Linked DNA regions of Homo sapiens: region 2 is linked to region 1. The links are contacts of gene promoters, found by promoter capture Hi-C in blood cells and fetal thymus (Javierre and others, 2016). All regions are on one chromosome and are shown on one strand. Each heading gives the region's core, a stretch centred on a gene start or on the middle of the fragment in contact. The rest is flanking DNA. Distances are from core to core; before and after follow the strand shown. Region 1 holds the start of PHLDA3 (pleckstrin homology like domain family A member 3). Region 2 overlaps NAV1 (neuron navigator 1).

Region 1 (3,321 bases), core at 251-2,750:
GTCGTCACACGTGTGTGTGTGTGTGTGTGTGTGTGTGTATAAAGAGTTATGGATGAGACACTGACAGTTCCCTTCTCTCATCTCCTAACTTTGGGACTGCAGAGGAGCGCACTCCTATCCCCACAACAGGACCTTCCCTGTATCTGTTAGGCTCTGCTCTTTGGGCAGGAGGATGGCAACACAGGGTGTAAGTACAAAGAGGTCTTATTACTGTCATTATTATATATCATTACTCCCGTAAGAATCTATTATTAACATGTTGATGAATAGACCTTTAAGAAACTGTGGGCCTGGAGGAACTGATCAAGATGGGGACAGAATGAGGACCTAAGAGAGCCCTCTTCCAGTGCCTGGCTTAATCTCAGGGCCCCCATCATTCTCTAAAGGGAATAAGAGTGGGGAGAGGGGAGGAAGAACATTTCTTGAGACTCAAGAGTTGTCAGGTCCTGTCTTGGGTCTTTCACAAATGTTATCCAACTTATTCATCAGGACAACCCCATGAGATGAGAATAAATTAATCCTCCTATTCGACAGATGAGGAAATTGACGGAGGTCAGTAAAGTTGCCCCAGGTGGGCAGGACACAGCCAACAAGGGAGAAGAGGTTTGAACTCAACTCTGCAAAGCTCTTGTGTTTACACAATATTCTAGCCAGAACAGAAAGAGACCTCTCCCTCTGCGTTCCCCTCCAGCTCTGTATGCGGGAGAAGTCCATTCTTGGGGAAGGCCGAGGGAGGACAGAATCTGCGGAGCGGAAGGAGCAAGGTTGGAGCTGCGCTTACACCTGGGACTGGCTGTGCCATCGGTCCAGCGTCGGCGCCTGCAAGTGTGCGGTGGAGAGGACTGCAGACAGTGGCATCCCCAGGTCACGGAGGGGGTCCCTCCTCCCCCACTACGAGGAGGGCATGAATGACCTCAAGCCTCAGCTCTCCTTTGTTGGCACTGGCTACTCTCTACAGGCCTCCCCGCGCAATGCATGGGGGTAGGAGTAGGAGCAGGTGAACTGTCCAAGCAGAGGCAGCGATGGACAGCCTCTCTTGGGTGCTGCACAGAGAAATCGGGCGATGGAGGAGGAACCCAACATGGGCTTGATGCAGAGGCTGGGGGCCCCATGGCGTGCCAAGTAACCAGCAGCTGTCTGACGCCTAACATGCAACTGGTGCCACTGCGCGTTCGCCAAGCAAGCCCACCCCCTTGCTAGCAGCGCGCTCTCCAATCGAGGAGATGCGCCTTCCCCCTCCCTTCCCCGCCATCTCCCCCTTCATTCAAGGCCTGGGGGAGCTGCGGTTCCGAGAAGCGGCAGACGGCAGCCAGAAGGCTTGGGCTGTTGAGTAAGCAGCCCCCTCTCAGTCCCGGCCCTCCCCGCCCCGCGCCCTGCGCCTCCAGTGAGTGACTGAGCCCCCGCTGCGGCCCCGCCCCCGGGGCCCTGCCGGAGCTGGTGCGCGGCGCGGAGGGGAGGGCCGGCCAGGGTAGGAATGCGCTGCGGGCGGGCGGCGCAGGAGGCGAGCGGCGGAACATGTAAGGGCACATCCCGCGAGCTGCCGCCCAGCGCGCAGACAGAGCCCAGGGGAGCAAGAGAACGGGCGGGCGGTGGGGCTCACGGCCTAGGGAGGCGCGGAGGCATCTGGCAGAGGCGGGTCGGGCTGGGCCAGCTGGGGTAGAGCGGAGGAGCGGGTGCCGGCTGAAGCGGGGCGGTGGGCGCGGAGCGCGCTGGGGGCACCGACACCACCTCACCGGCAGCCGGGTGCTGAGGGCCGCGGTGTGGGTGCGCGGAGCAGTCAGGGCGCAGGTGGGCAGCGCGCACGGCCTGCCAGCCCGGGGCGCCAGAATCCTGCGCTGCGGGGCCGAGAGGGGCGCCGCGCCCGCCGCAGCCTGGAGCTTTCCGCGAACCTCGGGGCGCCCATGACGGCGGCGGCGACGGCTACCGTGCTCAAGGAGGGCGTGCTGGAGAAGCGCAGCGGCGGGCTGCTGCAGCTGTGGAAGCGGAAGCGCTGCGTCCTCACCGAACGCGGGCTGCAGCTCTTCGAGGCCAAGGGCACGGGCGGCCGGCCCAAGGAGCTCAGCTTCGCCCGCATCAAGGCCGTGGAGTGCGTGGAGAGCACCGGGCGCCACATCTACTTCACGCTGGTGACCGAAGGGGGCGGCGAGATCGACTTCCGCTGCCCCCTGGAAGATCCCGGCTGGAACGCCCAGATCACCCTAGGCCTGGTCAAGTTCAAGAACCAGCAGGCCATCCAGACAGTGCGGGCCCGGCAGAGCCTCGGGACCGGGACCCTCGTGTCCTAAACCACCGGGCGCACCATCTTTCCTTCATGCTACCCACCACCTCAGTGCTGAGGTCAAGGCAGGTAAGCCCCCGGGGGACTGGGCCCTCTTCTCTCCTTCCCTCCCTTCTCTTTCCCCTACAGAGAGAATGAGGACTAGCATTCTACTTCAGAGCCGGACATCTTAGGGGGGAGGTTCCTGGGGCCAACTGAGGGCATGGGAGGCTTGGGCCAGTGGCCAACCCAGCAGATCCGGACTTTCCCCTGAGGCACCAGGTTGGCCGGTCCAGAATGTGATCCAGGTGTGTGAGAGGAAGATGGAAGCCCTGGGAGGGGGATACCTGGGTGAGATGAGCCTTCTTTCAAGTTGGTTCAGCCCTGACTCAGGTGGAAGGAAGTAGAGGGAGGTTGGCCTGCACATTGCCCCAGGCTGTGGGCCTCTGCTTTCCACGCAGAGCAGGGCTCCTGGACTTCGGCTTTCTGGCAGCTGAGGACAACCGAGGGTGGGGACGCGGATCGTGGAGGCCGACCCTCTTTCCCTCTAGGTTGAATGCTTGTCATAAAGTTTGAGCATTGAATTGATGTAGAAAGACAGTATCTCCCAGATGGCGAAGGCACCATCAAGGGTTGCAAATAGAGCCAAGGAGTCCGGCTCCCAAGGTGGGGCCTCAGTGGAAGGTGGGGCCTCAGTGGGCCGCCTTGGCTGGACTGGGCCTGAGGGATCCAGCTCCTCCTCTACATATGTGTGTGTGTGTGTGTGTGTGTGTGTGTGTGTGTGTGTGTGTATGGTTTGTTGTTGTTGTTGTTGTTGTTTGAGACAGAGTCTCGCTGTGTCACCCAGGCTGGAGTACAGTCGTGTGATCTTGGCTCATTGCAACCTCTACCTCCTGGGCTCAAGCAAATCTCCTGCTTCAGCTTCCAGAACAGCTGGGATTACAGGTGCCTGCCACCACACCCTGCTAATTTTTGTATTTTTAGTAGAGATGGGGTTTCGCCATGTTGGCCAGGCTGGTCTTGAACTCCTGACCTCAGGTGATCTGCCTGCCTCGGCCTCCCCA
Region 2 (3,346 bases), core at 717-3,216, 320 kb before region 1:
TGAGGTAAAGGTTAAGGAGAGGACCCCTGGGGCTTACAGGTCTCCTCTACTTGCCTTCATGCCCTAGGAAGCTGGGGTCATGCCCCTGGTACTCCTCACTGACCAGTCCAGACATCACACTAAAGGGTATCTAAAGGCCCTCACCTTCTAGAGACTTGATATAGGACTTGGAATACTATGGGCCCAGATAAAAATCTGTAATACTCTTACTTTCCTGCTCCCTGTTCCCTCTCAATCTGTGGCTGGATGTCCTACCTTTGGGTGTGGTTTCTGAGGCATTAAGGGCTCCCTGAATGACTGCCTGGGCCTCAGAGTTCTTTTTCTTCAGAAAGTCTATGGTTTCTCGCAAATCCAGCAGCTCAGTGTCCTAAGAGAGAAATGAAAATAGCGTTGGCTGGGCACGGTGGCTCACACCTATAATCCCAGCACTTTGGGAGGCCGAGGTGGGCGGATCACCTGAGGTCAGGAGTTCAAGACCAGCCTGGCCACCTGGTCTCCATTAAAAATACAAAAATTAGCTGGGCGTGGTGGCGGGCACCTGTAATCCCAGCTACTTGGGAGGCTGAAGCAGGAGAATCGCTTGAACCTGGGAGGCAGAGTTTGCAGTTAGCCAAGATCGCGCCAGTGCACTCCAGCCTGGGTGACAAGAACGAAACTCCATCTCAAAAAAAGAAAACAGCGTCATTAGTTGGGATTAGCAGGAGCCCTGAGCCCTTATGATGTGTCAGGCAATGGGCGAGGCATTGGAATTCTGCAAAACTTGATAGAGAAGGGCAAGGAATTGGGATAAGGAATATGCTCACACTGTATTGGGGGGCAGATTGAGAATCCAGGGTGACAGTGAGGTGGGGAGAAACTGGCATTCATGAGCAAGAACAGATGGTCAGCTTCGGCCTCTCTGTCCAGGAGAACCCCCTCGCCGCACCCACCCCTCCCACCCTTTCCCAGGCCTCTCACCTTCTCCTCGGCCGTCTCTGCCAGGTGTCGCAGGCGGGATGTCATATTCACCAGGCTCTGCTCAAAAGCAGCCACCAGATTAGCCTGAAACAAACACAGAAAGAGATTGCTAAGTTGCATAAGGCTGGGGGAAAGGCAATAACTGACAATGGGAAATAGTTTTAACTGATTTCCTGTATCTCGGAGCTGACCAATGCCAGCAAACCTCTTGGTGGTTAAAAAAATATTGATTTTCCTGAGCAGACAAAGGGGAAATCAAAGAAATTTTCTGGTGGGAACCAGCTTCTTGAATAATGAAGCCAGGTTGAGGGTAGGGCAGGTTTCCAGAGGCTCCTGGAGACTTGAGATCTAAAACCTATCAACTACCAGAGGTAGGACTATCCCTCTGCTCTATGTGATATTTGGTGTGGCCAACTTGGTAGGCGGGCCATAGCCTCTGGGGTCGTTCCTATTATTTTGGTTTAACTCCTGCATTGTGGAGTGGGCCGGCCCCCAAGGGACCAAATAATCTCCTGGCAGAAACTATTTGGTGCGTTTCTTCCTCCTCTGCTACTCCACTGCTTCACCCTTTCTTGCTTTGCAGCTGCTCCTTGTTCCCGGATTCTCCAGGTTTGCAAGGCTGGAAGGAAACTGCAGAGGCATTCCACCGTTTGGCCACTAGGTGTCAGGTCTGTTTCATGAGGAGTGAAGGATACCAAAGGGCTCTCTGGATAAGAGGCAGGCTAGTTCGGAAAGGTGCTCAGTGGAGGAGCTAAGGCCACTTGGTTTGGCATAGTTTGACCTCTAGCTGGCCAACTGGCTGCAAGATGTATAGGCAAGGTAAAGGGAATGAGGCCGGGGGCTAGAAAGGGGAGCACTTGGGGATGGAGAAATAGCCATCGTGAGACTATCTGAGCAAGTTGGTGACCCTAGCAAGAAGTGGGCATACTCTGCGCAGCTCCTTCATGCAGAGCTCTAGGAAATCGACGGCACTCTCATGGCTCCTACTGGCTTACAATTCTCCCTCCCTGTTGGGTCAACTCTAGTTTTCATCCACTGCTCCGCATGTCTGGAGCCTACTTCATAGGACCAGGGCTGGAGGCAATCCCTTTAGTCCAGTTAGAGCCTCCTCTTGCACTTTTACTATAAATCTGTCAAGGCCTGGGCTCTGAGGAGATTATAATATGTCACAACCTGAGCAGTTTCCTTTCACCCACTGTGCAGGCAACATCTGTCTTCTTGACCTCAGGTCTTCTCTGGTTTGCTTCTCTACATCCTGCATGTCTGCTTGTAGACTCCTTGTAGTCCCTGGAAGACTACTCATGAGAGGCCCCAAGAACCCCTGTATGCTCTTCTGTGCTGCCTTTCCCCATCCAGGGGAACCCTTTTGCTCTGGCTGGGCTTTCTCCCCGCTCTCCCCTACACTTCCTCTCCCTACATTGACCCTTCCCTTAATCCCAACCCCAGACTAGGGTACCTGTAAGACCTCAGGGCTAAGCAGTGGTGCTGCAGAAAGGCTAGCATTTGAGAGGGGTAAAGTGGTCTGGGCCCCTACATCTAGGGTGTGCCCTCAGCTTTAGTGGCTAGGAAGTTCCATGGAACATGACAAAAGTTTGGTTTGGAGTCACGGAATCCTGAAGAGAGCTGTGGAACCTTCCTAGAGTCCCAGCATCCCATCTCCTGCTTGAGGGCAGGGTTCTGACCCTCGGCAAAAATCTGCCTTTAAGATGCAGAACCCACCGTGTCTGGGTGTTTAGTTTGTTCTCTCTTAGCCAAATGGAACTTCCTGTTCTAAGAAAAATCACCCTCTAAATTCAATTTCTTGGCTTCAGCCCAGCCTTGACAGCATGGTGGCTGACAGATTGCAGTGTAAATGAATCAGACATAATAATGTTCTCTGCCTCCCTGGCGCCTCTCCCCCCCAGCATCTCCCAGACATGAATTTCCTGGGGTGTGCAGGACGTGACCCAGGCCATTTGCTTTGGTGGGTGTGGCACAAGGGAGAGAAAAGATGGTTCTTGTTTATGTTACAATTCTTATGGGTCCCCCAAGAGTGGGAAAAAGTGCTTAACATGAGCTTCAAACAAACTGGTACAACTTATGAATTGAGGGTTTGGGAAAAGAGAATCGAGAGAATAACTAGTGTGGTGAGGGAACTGCTGCTGAAATGTGTTGGAAACATTCAGAATCTTGGTGGAGATTCTTCTACCTAATTCCGACGGATAGACCCCAGGCCTGACAGCTGGGTTCCCCAGAGAGGAAGGGCAGAGAGAAAACCAGAAACTACTGCGGAAATTGCAGACATGGTTACTTTTGTGCAAACACTTGGAAAGCTCCTGCAGATCCGGCTCAGCTGTTGTTTACAGCTTTGGGGGAAAATGGCTCTTATGTTCTCTGTTTGCAACTCAGT

The links. Contacts are between HindIII fragments. The CHiCAGO score rates a contact against its expected background, and 5 or more counts as called.
Region 2: a fragment that was not itself captured here is called in contact with the fragment with the promoter of PHLDA3 in region 1 in 2 of 17 cell types (M1 macrophages and monocytes); the score reaches 6.7 in M1 macrophages.

Annotation. Positions count from the first base shown.
Region 1 is chr1:201,467,367-201,470,687 of GRCh38, reverse strand. PHLDA3 (pleckstrin homology like domain family A member 3) reads left to right here and starts at 1,500. Exons shown (of 2, transcript NM_012396.5): 1 at 1,500-2,347. The coding sequence starts at 1,902. The coding sequence ends at 2,285. RefSeq lists silencers at 1,231-1,460, 1,671-1,980 and enhancers at 1,481-1,600, 1,115-1,829, 2,051-2,190, 2,261-2,320. The HindIII fragment of the contact is 14,509 bases long and covers 1-3,321 here.
Region 2 is chr1:201,791,487-201,794,832 of GRCh38, reverse strand. It overlaps NAV1 (neuron navigator 1), which reads right to left. Exons shown (of 34, transcript NM_001389617.1): 18 at 958-1,041; 19 at 256-367. The region is part of intron 2 of IPO9-AS1 (IPO9 antisense RNA 1); the gene reads left to right. Among named protein-coding and RNA genes, the nearest start is that of MIR1231, 15 kb to the left of the region's middle. The HindIII fragment of the contact is 4,337 bases long and covers 1-3,346 here.